3 separate regions of the Homo sapiens genome follow, and regions 1 and 3 are each linked to region 2. Evidence: promoter capture Hi-C in 16 types of primary human blood cells and fetal thymus (Javierre and others, 2016). All regions are on one chromosome and are shown on one strand. The core of a region is centred on a gene start or on the middle of the fragment in contact, and the rest is flanking DNA. Distances in the headings are between cores, read along the strand shown.

Region 1 (3,330 bases), core at 467-2,966, 1.4 Mb after region 2:
AACCCAAAATAAGCAAAGAAAAGAAGGCAACTTTGGAGGACAGAGAAGCTTCAAAAATATGTTATCAAAAAGGAAAAGAGAGAATATATTGCATCCGTGAAACAAAAACAAGATACCACAAAAAAGAAACATGCAGAAAATTAGAAAAGTACTCTAAGACATTAAAATATAATAGCAGAAATGGAAACTGTGATAGGTGGGTAGGAAGAGAAAGTTGAGAAAATCTGTCAGAAAAGTGGAACCAAAAATCAAAGTGATGAAAAACAGAAAGGAAAGAAAGTTAGAGTACCATTCTAAGAGGTCCAACATCTGAGTAATGGGGCAAAGAAATCATCAATGAAACAATTCAAGAACATTTCTTGGAAGCAAAGAACATGAGATTACAGATAGAAAAGGCCCACAGAAAAACAGGCACAATGGACATATCATAAAATTTCAGAACTCTAAGAAGAAAAATAATTTCCTAAACTCTCAGAGAGAATAAAACTAATTACATGCAAAGGATTGGAAATATGATCCTTTATCTCTTTTAGAGAAAAATACTGAATATTTACAATAAAACAGAGTAATTCTGGATTTTGATTTAAAATAATTGAAAGTTGGCCATGTGTGGTGGCTCACACCTGTAATCCCAACACTTTGAGAGGCCGAGGTGGGCAGACTGCTTTAGCCCAGGAGTTTGAGACCAGCCTGGGCCACATGGCAAAACCCCATCTCTACAGAAAATTAGCCAGGCGTGGTGGTGCACACCTATAATCCCAACTACTCAGGAGTCTGAGGTGGGAGGATTCCTTGAGGCCAGGAGTTCAAAGCTGCAGTGAACCATGATCGCACCACTACACTCCAGCCTGAGTGACAGAGCCAGACCCTGCCTCAAAAAAGGAAGTAAATAAACAAATAAAATAAAATAATTAAAAGGTCAGAAGTGGGGGATGTGCTGTAGAGGCAATGCAACTGGCTATACATTGACAATTGTGGAGTGATGGGTACATGGGAATTCATTATATTATATATTCATCATATAATTCTCTTTGAACATATTTTAAATTTTCTATAATACAGAGTTCTTTTTATAAACAAAGAAGGAATGATAGGAATGATTTAGATTTCTTAGCAACACCGGAAGCAAGAAGACAATGAAGCAATGGCTTCAAACTCCTGAAAGAAAACTATTTCCAAAGTAGAATTCTATACCTAGACAAACTGTAAATCAAGTGCAAGGGAAGTGCCCAAACAGATGAATCGGCCTTAGCTGAATCAATGGCTGTCCATCCATTTCTCTTGGAAGTAAGACAGAGTATTTGGATACTGAAACAAGTAGGTTTGTATATTTGATAATGGAAATAGGAGGTATTTCTCTTTAATGTGCTTCTGATTGCTTTACTTTGAGGAACTCATATCTAATGGAAAACATGGATGTATAAACAGGTAATGTTTATGTGTACCAAAACAAAATATACTAAGTTCTCCAATAGAGCTATGTTTAGCAGCTTATGGGACTCCAGCTTTGTGCCTCAAGAAAGGATTTATGGAGCTAGTAATGCCCGAGATAAGCCTTAAAGAATGTATAGCAGTTACACAAGTAAAGAAGGAAGGAAAAAGTATTCAAGGTGGTGAAATCACAATTAATAAAGGCATAAAGGAATAAAACATCATGGTGTATGTAGAATACTAGCACAGAACCAAACACAAGGTTGGGCCCCGTGGTTCACGCCTGTAATCCCAGCACTTTGGGAGGCCAAGGCAGGAGGATCACTTGAGGCCAGGAGTTCGACAACAGCCTGAGCAACACAGCAAAACCTTGTCTCTACAAATATTTTTTTTAAAAAAACTAGCTGGGTGTGGTGGCATGTGCTGTGGTCCTAGCTCCTCAAGAGGCTGAGGCAGAGGATCGCTTGAGCCCCAGCAGTCAAGGCTGCAGTGAGCTGTGATCATGCCACTGCGCTACAGCCTGGGTGACAATAATGCTTATTGACATGGACCTGGCATATCTAGTGAGACTAGAGATCATAGATGAAATTGGAAAGTATTATGCAGCTATTGGTTATCTGAATGTTGGGTTTATTGTCATGAAACAGCAGAGTCAGGAAACAAGGTGTTGGCCAGGCGCGGTGGCTCACACCTGTAATCCCAACACTCTGGGAGGCCGAGACGGGCGAATCACTTGAGGTCAGGAGTTTGAGACCAGCCTGGCCAACATGGCAAAACTCCATCTCTACTAAAAATACAAAAATTAGCCAGGCATTGTGGCACACGCCTGTAATCCCAGCTACCCAGGAGGCTGAGGCAGGAGAATTGCTTGAACCCGGGAGACGGAGATTGCAATGAGCCAAGATCTCACCACTGCACTCCAGCCTGGGTGACAGAGTGAGACTCCAGAAAAAAAAAAAGAAAGAAGGAAGGAAGGAGAGAAAGAGAGAGAGAGAGAGGAAAGAAAGAAAGAAAGAAAGAAAGAAAGAAAGAAAGAAAGAAAGAAAGAAAGAAAGAAAGAGAAGGAAGAAAGAGAGAGAAGGAAGGAGGGAAAGAAGGAAGGAAGGAAAGAAGGAAGGAAGGAAGGAAAGAAAGAAAGAAGAAAGAAGGAAAGAAAGAAAGAAAGAAAGAAAGAAAGAAAGAAAGAAAGAAAGAAAGAAAGAGAAAGAAAGAAAGAAAGAAAAGAAAGCAAGAAAGCTAAAAACTGTATTCTGCAGTAGAAGTTAAGGATCTAGAAAGTTTAGGAAACAACCAAGATGGTAAGTTCCTTAAGATCTTAAATGTAAACTGGTAGAAGTCTCCTACCAGTGGACTTCTACACTCAGTCTTAGGAATAGTCTGGATGGCTCACAGTTCACAAATTTGTTTACTAAGGTTGAATTTAGCCCTGGCTTATATTTCATTTATTTAATTCAGCAATGTTTATCATCATTTATTCATTTGCCAGTTGATTCTACAAAAAATTTTAAGCACCTATTTATATAGACACTGTTGACATAAAACAGTCTTTGTGGTGTCTATAGTCCAATGAGAGAGGCAGATGCTAAAGAAATATAGGCACAATTAATACATAAAAGGCATTTTTATGTGGCACACAGTCCATACCATATGACCCAACCAGAAGGTTCAAGTATTTCAGTACAATTTAGGTCAACTTCAATATTAAAAATACTTCCTAAGTACAATAGTAATTTTTAGTGCATATTATAAACAAGGGCCAAGAAAAAAAAACCCTAATTTGATCTTTATATTTGTTAGTTCTTAATGAAAATACTAATTGCTCTTTACCCATTTCTGTGAAACTCTAAATTTTTATTTGTGATGAGTCCAGGTCTATTGGATAGACTTTCAGCATTAGTA
Region 2 (3,784 bases), core at 1,048-3,547:
GAGTAGTGAAAGGCAAGCTAGGCTATTCCAAACTTTTCTAATCTTTATGCTTCTTTAGTGGCTCTCCAGGTTATTATAACTTGTGTTACCAGGCTAATTACAAAAATGGATACCTCTTTAAATCAGGCCATAAGGCTGAATCAGGTCATTCAGTGAACTATGGTCCTTGTAAAAAGTAAAGTAGAGGTTCCTTTTCAAAGACTTTCCTCCTCATCTGATTAGGAATAAATAGTAACCTCTCTTAGAAGCAAAATTTATTCAAAGACCTGTTAACATTCTTAAATATCTGCTAGCTGTAATAAAGAAATCAATGTACTTTATGTTCTTAGCTCCCACAATTTAGCCTAAATATTTGCCCTGGCATGCTTATACTGGTCCAAGTGGGCATTAGGTCATAGCCTGTTCCTCTTCCTTATTTAGAGGTGTTTTTCCCTTCTCAGCATTCCACAAGTTACTTCCTCCTTCCTTTGTTCTCCTCTGCCTTTGCCTCTTTTAAGAATTTCTAAGTTGCTAGCCAATCAAGACAAATACAGAATGTGAAGTCCCGTTCTAGCCAATGGAAACCAGTCACAACAGTAAGGTGGACGGGTCAGGTTATAAATGACCCTGCCTCCTTTGTTCGGTGTACTCTTGTGGCAAAACTGCTGGCGAGTGTACTCTTTCCGCAGAAAGTAAAAATGGCCTTGCTAAAGAAATTAATTTTATGTTCAAGTGCTATTTCTTTACGGCACCAAGAAATAAGCATTTCTAGCAGTCCTTAACCGCCATAATGCCCTAAATTAGACCATGACCAATTGGACTCAAATACTTTGAACTATCTTTATTGCCTGAACTTTGAATTGTTTAATTTTGATCAGTTCAGTTTGTGGAGACTCCTGTTAAGGTGTGTACCTCAGTTTATTGCTATACTCCTTCTCGTGGCCATAATAGTCTCCCTGATGTGTTGTTGTCCCCTCGAGAGTCTTCAATGTCTCTATGCAGCCATCCTTTGTACACCAAATGGTGTTATTACAGTTAGAATAACAACATGAAGAAAGTATAATCACTCAACTAATTTGACATTGTGACTTCCATACTGAGACAAAACAAGGTTCTGGTCAATCTCGTAAAACTGAGAGGCTGACCCAAAGGAGGAAACTGTTATTAAATTAAATCTGGCCTAAAGTTGCCTCCCTACCTAGCAAAGCATAATCAAACCTAATATGTAAATAAACTGCAATGTAATTTGAGAGTACGTTCTTCTAACAAGTGGCCAAGTCTTGGCCAATCACCGCAGCGGAGCTTTTAGCCCATTACAGGCTGCAAAAAATATTGTCTATAAACGCGGCTTGCCCACTGTTAGGGGCTGGAGCTCTCTGAACCTTTACTGGCTCAGGATACTACATGATTCATGCTTTCTTTGCTCAGATAAACTCTGCTAAACTTGTTTGAAGTTTTTTTGTTAACAATATTTAAACATAAAGCAAATAAATTAATAAGAATCCTATATCACTAAGTTACAGTAATTAGAAAGTATTCACCTGAGTGAGAAGATTGGCCAAGCTGCTATCCAGTCTTCCATTATTTGACAAGACATTTCTTTCCTATGCTTTCTAATAGTATTCGTTATTCCAGAAAGGTTGCTCTATGACCTTAAACCGTCCACATGTTCACTGCACTGATAGACGTCCAACGTCAAGATGGGTAACTAAAGGTCAACTCTCTCTTTACCTTCCCTGAGCCTGATTTTTGCATTGTAACTCATGGTCACTAGACATTTGTTTTGGGTGTTCGCAGTCTACATTTATTTCCCTTTTAGGGGAAACAATCACTGTCCACGGGATTAAAATAATCCCGAGTTGATTATTTGGTGACATCAACCAACGGTGCACATTTTGGGTCCATTACCAACACAGCCAAGCAGCACATATTTCTTCAGAGCCTAGATATGCACATGTCATCAAAGGATAGCATTTTACAGAGTCAACACCACTCACTTCATAGAACAAGGGGCCAGTGGCTTTTCAGAAGAAGGGTCTGTTCTCGGCCCCACACCAGAACGCCAGCCGCCAGGTCCCGCTGCTCAGCAGGTCTCAAGCCCGCGCTCACTCGGGCTCCGGCTGCTGACAGCTGCGAGCCCGCGCGTGTATACCCGCTCAACGCTGGGACGTTACAGCCAGGGCCAATGGGCAGAGCGGGACTCGAGGCCCCGCCCCCGCCTTGTGGCGTCACGGGGACGCCGGGGGCGCGCGGGCTGCAGGGCCGCGTAGGTCCCCGCCCCCAGAGTCTGGCTTTCCGCGGCTGCCCGCCTCGCGCGTCTTCCCTGCCCGGGTCTCCTCGCTGTCGCCGCCGCTGCCACACCATGGCCTTCGTCACCAGGCAGTTCATGCGTTCCGTGTCCTCCTCGTCCACCGCCTCGGCCTCGGCCAAGAAGATAATCGTCAAGCACGTGACGGTCATCGGCGGCGGGCTGATGGGCGCCGGCATTGCCCAGGTGAGCGGCCCTCCCTGCAGCGTGCCCACGCGCTTGGCCGCCCACCCTGAGGTGGAAGCTCTGGCGCGACCGGCCGCGAGGGGCCTGCACCCGCCCGACACCAGGGAGTTTTCACCCCGCGCCTCCCGGGTGTAGTTGAAATATCTCGCGTCTGGGCCTGTGAGGGCCCAAGTCTCACTCCCCTCAAAATTCAGGGTTCTGGGCCGATCCTCAGCTTCCTCGTTTGGAAAATTCTGGCTGCCCCCAGGGCCCGCTGAAGGTTCCATGGAGAGTGGCGGTGAATGCATTTTGGAAGCGGGCCGTGCAAGAGAAGAAAGAATTGTATGTGCACAAGGTTCAGGCATAACGCGTTTGTTCCTGCTCGGCTCAAACGGGAGTTTGCTGCCAAAGACATGAACTGCGATCAGTTTTAATTCTATCAGTTATTTTTGATTTTTATTCTGTAATTGTGCAGTCTTTGTCAAAGTAGTTTTCTCTCCTAAACGGCCTCCCGGCTCTCCCCGGTCTTTCCTTCGCTTGCTAGGTTGTAAAGAATAGTAGTAGTCATGACTTTTGTAGCACTTTGTAAAGTCACCTAATGGAAGATTGCTGAGGTCCTGGTTTTGACCTTTGAAATAGTGCCGTCTGTGCAGAGTTCTGAGCTTGCGATTTTGGCGCTGCAGCGGAATAAGTCTCTCTCTTTTTTTTTTTTTTTTTTTTTTTGAGTCGGAGTCTCTTTGACCCAGGCTGGAGTGGAGTGCAATGGCGCGATCTCGGTTCACTGCAACCTCCGCCTCCCGGGTTCAAGCGATTCTCCTGCCTCAGCCTCCCGAGTAGCTGGGATTACAGGCGCCCCGCCCGGCTAATTTTATATTTTTAGTAGAGACAGGGTTTCACCTTGTGGGTCAGGCTGATCTCGAACTCCTGACCAAAGGTGATCCGCCCGCCTGGCCTCCCGAAGTGCTGGGATTACAGGCGTTAGCCACTGCACCCAGCCGGAACAAGTCTTTTATCCATTGTACATCTTCAGGGCTTTTCCATTGTTCTGCTGAGCTGTGGTTCAGGCTCAGTTGTGCGAGTGATTGATTACCTGGCTACTGTAATGCTTGTACTTTTTTTTTTTAAAAATTATTCCATTTCAGCTCACATTGGAGAACCATGGTTTTCGTATCCTAGCTGATTATATTCTTAGCATTTCAGTCCTTTGCAACTTGGTTTGTTGGGGAAGGCGGTTATAGTCATCTAATTTTTCTTGGGGACAGTACTACTGTGGCTACAGTCATGAGAGAGTTTACTTTTTCAATGTCTTGTTTCCAACCAAGTCCACGCTTT
Region 3 (3,748 bases), core at 754-3,253, 1.4 Mb after region 2:
ACCCAGGTGCTGAGGCAAGAGACTGAAGGCACAAGCTGTTCCAGTATAATAAAAGAAAATAATTAGAATACAAAAAGTTATACTAAAAATAAGATATAGACATGATTATATATGAATATTATCAATCTTTAGTTGGTAGTGTTGCTCTTTTAGTATTATAATAATCTCTGTTTTATAATCATAACCTAGAAAACACCAGGCCATACAGAGTCAGGAGCTGAAGGGACATGGTGAGAAGTAACCAAAGGACAAGAGTGTGAGCCCTCTGTCACGCCCGGATAAGGGCCGCTTGAGGGTTCCTTGGTCTAGCGGTAAGGTCAGTGCCTGGGAAAGCACCCATTACTTGGCAGACCTTGGTCTAGCGGTAGGGCCAGTGCCTGGGAAGGCACCCGTTACTCGGCAGACCTTGGTCTAGCGGTAGCGCCAGTGCCTGGGAAGGCACCCGTTACTTAGCAGACCGGGAAAGCGAGTCTCCCTTTCCCCGGGGGGAGTTAGAGAACACTGCTCCACCAACTCTTGTGGGAGTCCTGACATTAGCCAGGCCTGCCCGCAGTCATCTGGAGGCTTAAACATCTGTGGTGCTGTGCTTCAGTGGTCATGCTCCTTGTCCACTTTCATGTTCTGCCTGTACACCTGGCACCTCCTTTTAAGTTCTTAAAAGATAGCAGTAACAAAATTAGTGAAAGTACTAAAGTCTTTGATCTTCCTGATAAGTGCACAGAAGAAATGCTGACATATACTGTCCTCCCTCTCTGCTTCAGCTATCACAAAGGGAAAGGCCCCCCGTCACGTGGACACGTGACTTGCTTGACCTTATTAATCATTTGAGATGACTCAAACTCCTTACCCTGCCCCCTTGCCTTGCATACAATAAATAGCAGTGTGTCCAGGCATTCAGGGTCACTACCAGGCTTCGCGCATTGGTGGTAGTGGTCCCCTGGGCCCAGCTGTGTTTCCTTCTATTTCTTTGTCTCATGTCTATTTTTCTACAATCTCTCATCTCTGCACACTAAGGAAAAACCCACAGGCCCTGTAGGGCTGGACCCTACACTACTAAAAATACAAAATTAGCGGGGCATGGTGCATGCTTGTAATCCCAGCTACTTCGGAGGCTGAGGCAGGAGAATCACTTGAACCTAGGAGACGGAGGTTGCAGTGAGCTGAGATTGAGCCATTGCACTCCAGCCTGGGCTACAAAAGCAAAGCTCTGTTTCAAAAAAAAAAAAAGAAGAAAGAAAAAGAAAGTATAGGGCATTAATTATAGTAACTTGTGCACAGTTTCATCATTTGTGCCAAATGATCATGTAACAAAATTATGACTATGCCTATTGTGTATTATGTGTGTGTGCACATTAACTATCAAAATGTCCATATTTTGTATCTGCAACAAACTTATATATTGGCAGCAACTACAGCGCTATTGGCCAATTACAACAACAACATGAAACACAGACACCGAGAGAAGAAACGTTATCTAAACCCAAAGTGTGAGTGTCTCAGAGCACATATTTTCCAAATGTCAGTTAACAGGGAAAACTAACAGATACCATAACCAGTGACATTCCCTCCCTGCCCTGAATTATGGTGAAAGTGTATGAATTATATGCCCCATTTTCAGCTATACAATTTAGAGCTCCACTGGAGTTCTGTGGAAGACCAAGTGAGGAGCTTTCAGTTTTGGAAAGTAGATACTCATATGACATAAATGGTCTAGATTCAGGAAAAAGAACAGCTAGGCCTTGGTGATGGCTTCTGAATGCAGTTTGTACAATTTACAACTCAAGTGTCATGTGATATCATTTCTGTGGGGATTCTCGTTCAAAAATAATGAGACTAATGTTGATAAACGATCGAGATTTTTATTATGAGTTTCCGTAAAGGTGTAACACAGGGGTCTCTCCCAGAAAAATAGAAAGTAAAGCTTCCAACAATACTTCTCTATATCTCTCCTCCCTCCAAAGTTCCCTACTTATGACGGCTGCTAAAATTCTCCTCCTCTTTCAATCTCCCAATCCTTCCATGTTGTTATCTCACAGTTTTCTTTCTACCCTGTTCACTACCTTCTTCCCACATGGTGTAAAAGTGAGAAGCTTCTCTTGTACCCCTGCCCACCAACCATACATAGAAGACAGCTAATGGCCTCCCATTTCTCTCTCTCTTCTTGGCAAGAAGCATGTAGCATCCCCTACAAAGTATATTTTTCTCCTCCTGAATGATTTTTGCATGAGACATTTTCTTACAGAGAAATTCCGGGGACTAACATTCTCTACTTTGTTTTATGTATATATAATAAAGTATATAATATACATATAAAACAAAGGTGTATATATAAAGCCAGATATATATATCTGACTCATTGCAGCCTCAACCACCTGGGCTCAAGCAATCCTCCCACCTCAGCTTCCTGAGCAGCTAGGACTACAAGGCTGTGTCACCATGCCGGGCTAATTTCTAATTATTTTGTAGAGATAGGGTATCTCTATGCACCCAGGCTGATCTCAAACTCCCGTCTCAAACGATCCTCCTGCTTTGGCCTCCCAAAGTCCTGGGATTATAGGCATGAGCCACCACACCTGCCCCTTCTACTCTGTTGTATTTAGAAGGAGAGAATCTTATGGGAGAAATTCCTGTTTTAACTTGTTTTAATCTATTACATAGAAACTGTCTACAGGACTATACTAGATTTCTACTTTTCGTTAGTGAAGAAGAAAGTTGTTATACGGAAAAATCTTTTAATTTTTTCATTTTTTTGAGACAGACTCTCACTCTGTCGCTGTGCTAGAGTGCAGTGGCACGATCTCTCCCTATGTTTTCTCCTATTAGTTTTATAGTTTCAGGTTTTTAAGTCTTTAGTCCATTTTGAGTTGATTTTTGTATATGGTGTACCACAAGCTTTGTAAACACCCTGCCATCATAGTGGTGCTCTGACTTATCAATATTCTTTTTTAAAAGTGTGTCCTTTCTAACTGAATTAGTATGTTCAACAATTTTATTTATTTATTTATTTATTTTTGAGACAGAGTCTCACTCTGCTGCCCAGGCTGGAGTGTGTAAGTGGCACAATTATGGCTCACTGCAGGCTTGACCTCCTAGGCCCAAGTGGTCCTCCTGCCTCAGCCTCCTGAGTAGCTAGGACCACAGGCACACGCCACCACACCTGGCTAATTTTTTAACTTTTTGTACAGACAAGGTCTCACTCTGTTGCCCAGGTTGGTCTCAAATTCCTGGGCTTAAGTGATCCTCCCACCTTGGCCTCCAAAACTGTTGGGATTACAGGTGTGAGCCACTGTGTCTGCCCCAACAACATTTTTTGTCTAGCTTTTTCTCTTTTAAAGAAACAGTTGTGTTTTACATTTTTCAGGTAATTGAAGTTTATCCTTTCAACTAGTAAAAAAAGTTTTAAAACCAATCCTTTGTAACACAGAAATACCCCTTCGTATGATCTTTTAACTTAGTTTTATACATAAAAATAAATCTAGGCTGGGCATGGTGGCTCACACCTGTAATCCCAGCACTTTGGGAGGCCAAGGCTGGAGGATTACTTGAGAGACCAACCTGGGCAACACAGCAAGACTTCACCTCTACTAAAAATTTTAAAAAATTAGCCCGGTGTGGTGGTGCACTCCTGTAATCCCAGCTGCTTGGGAGGCTAATGCAGGAGGGTCACTTGAGCCTAGGAGGTCAAGGCTGCAGTGAGCTGTAATTGCACCACTGCATTCTAGCCTGGGCAACAGAGTGAGACCCTGTC

What was found. The method cuts DNA at HindIII sites, captures the fragments that hold promoters and counts their contacts. A CHiCAGO score of 5 or more calls a contact.
Region 1: a fragment that was not itself captured here is called in contact with the fragment with the promoter of HADH in region 2 in 3 of 17 cell types (naive CD8 T cells, total CD8 T cells and non-activated CD4 T cells); the score reaches 6.8 in naive CD8 T cells.
Region 3: a fragment that was not itself captured here is called in contact with the fragment with the promoter of HADH in region 2 in 5 of 17 cell types (naive B cells, naive CD8 T cells, activated CD4 T cells and 2 more); the score reaches 7.4 in naive B cells.

Annotation. Positions count from the first base shown.
Region 1 is chr4:109,401,880-109,405,209 of GRCh38, forward strand. No RefSeq gene overlaps it. Among named protein-coding and RNA genes, the nearest start is that of SEC24B, 30 kb to the right of the region's middle. The HindIII fragment of the contact is 3,341 bases long and covers 47-3,330 here.
Region 2 is chr4:107,987,592-107,991,375 of GRCh38, forward strand. HADH (hydroxyacyl-CoA dehydrogenase) reads left to right here and starts at 2,298. Exons shown (of 8, transcript NM_005327.7): 1 at 2,298-2,473. The coding sequence starts at 2,342. RefSeq lists a silencer at 2,065-2,294. The HindIII fragment of the contact is 11,946 bases long and covers 1-3,784 here.
Region 3 is chr4:109,423,885-109,427,632 of GRCh38, forward strand. No RefSeq gene overlaps it. Among named protein-coding and RNA genes, the nearest start is that of SEC24B, 8.1 kb to the right of the region's middle. The HindIII fragment of the contact is 169 bases long and covers 1,920-2,088 here.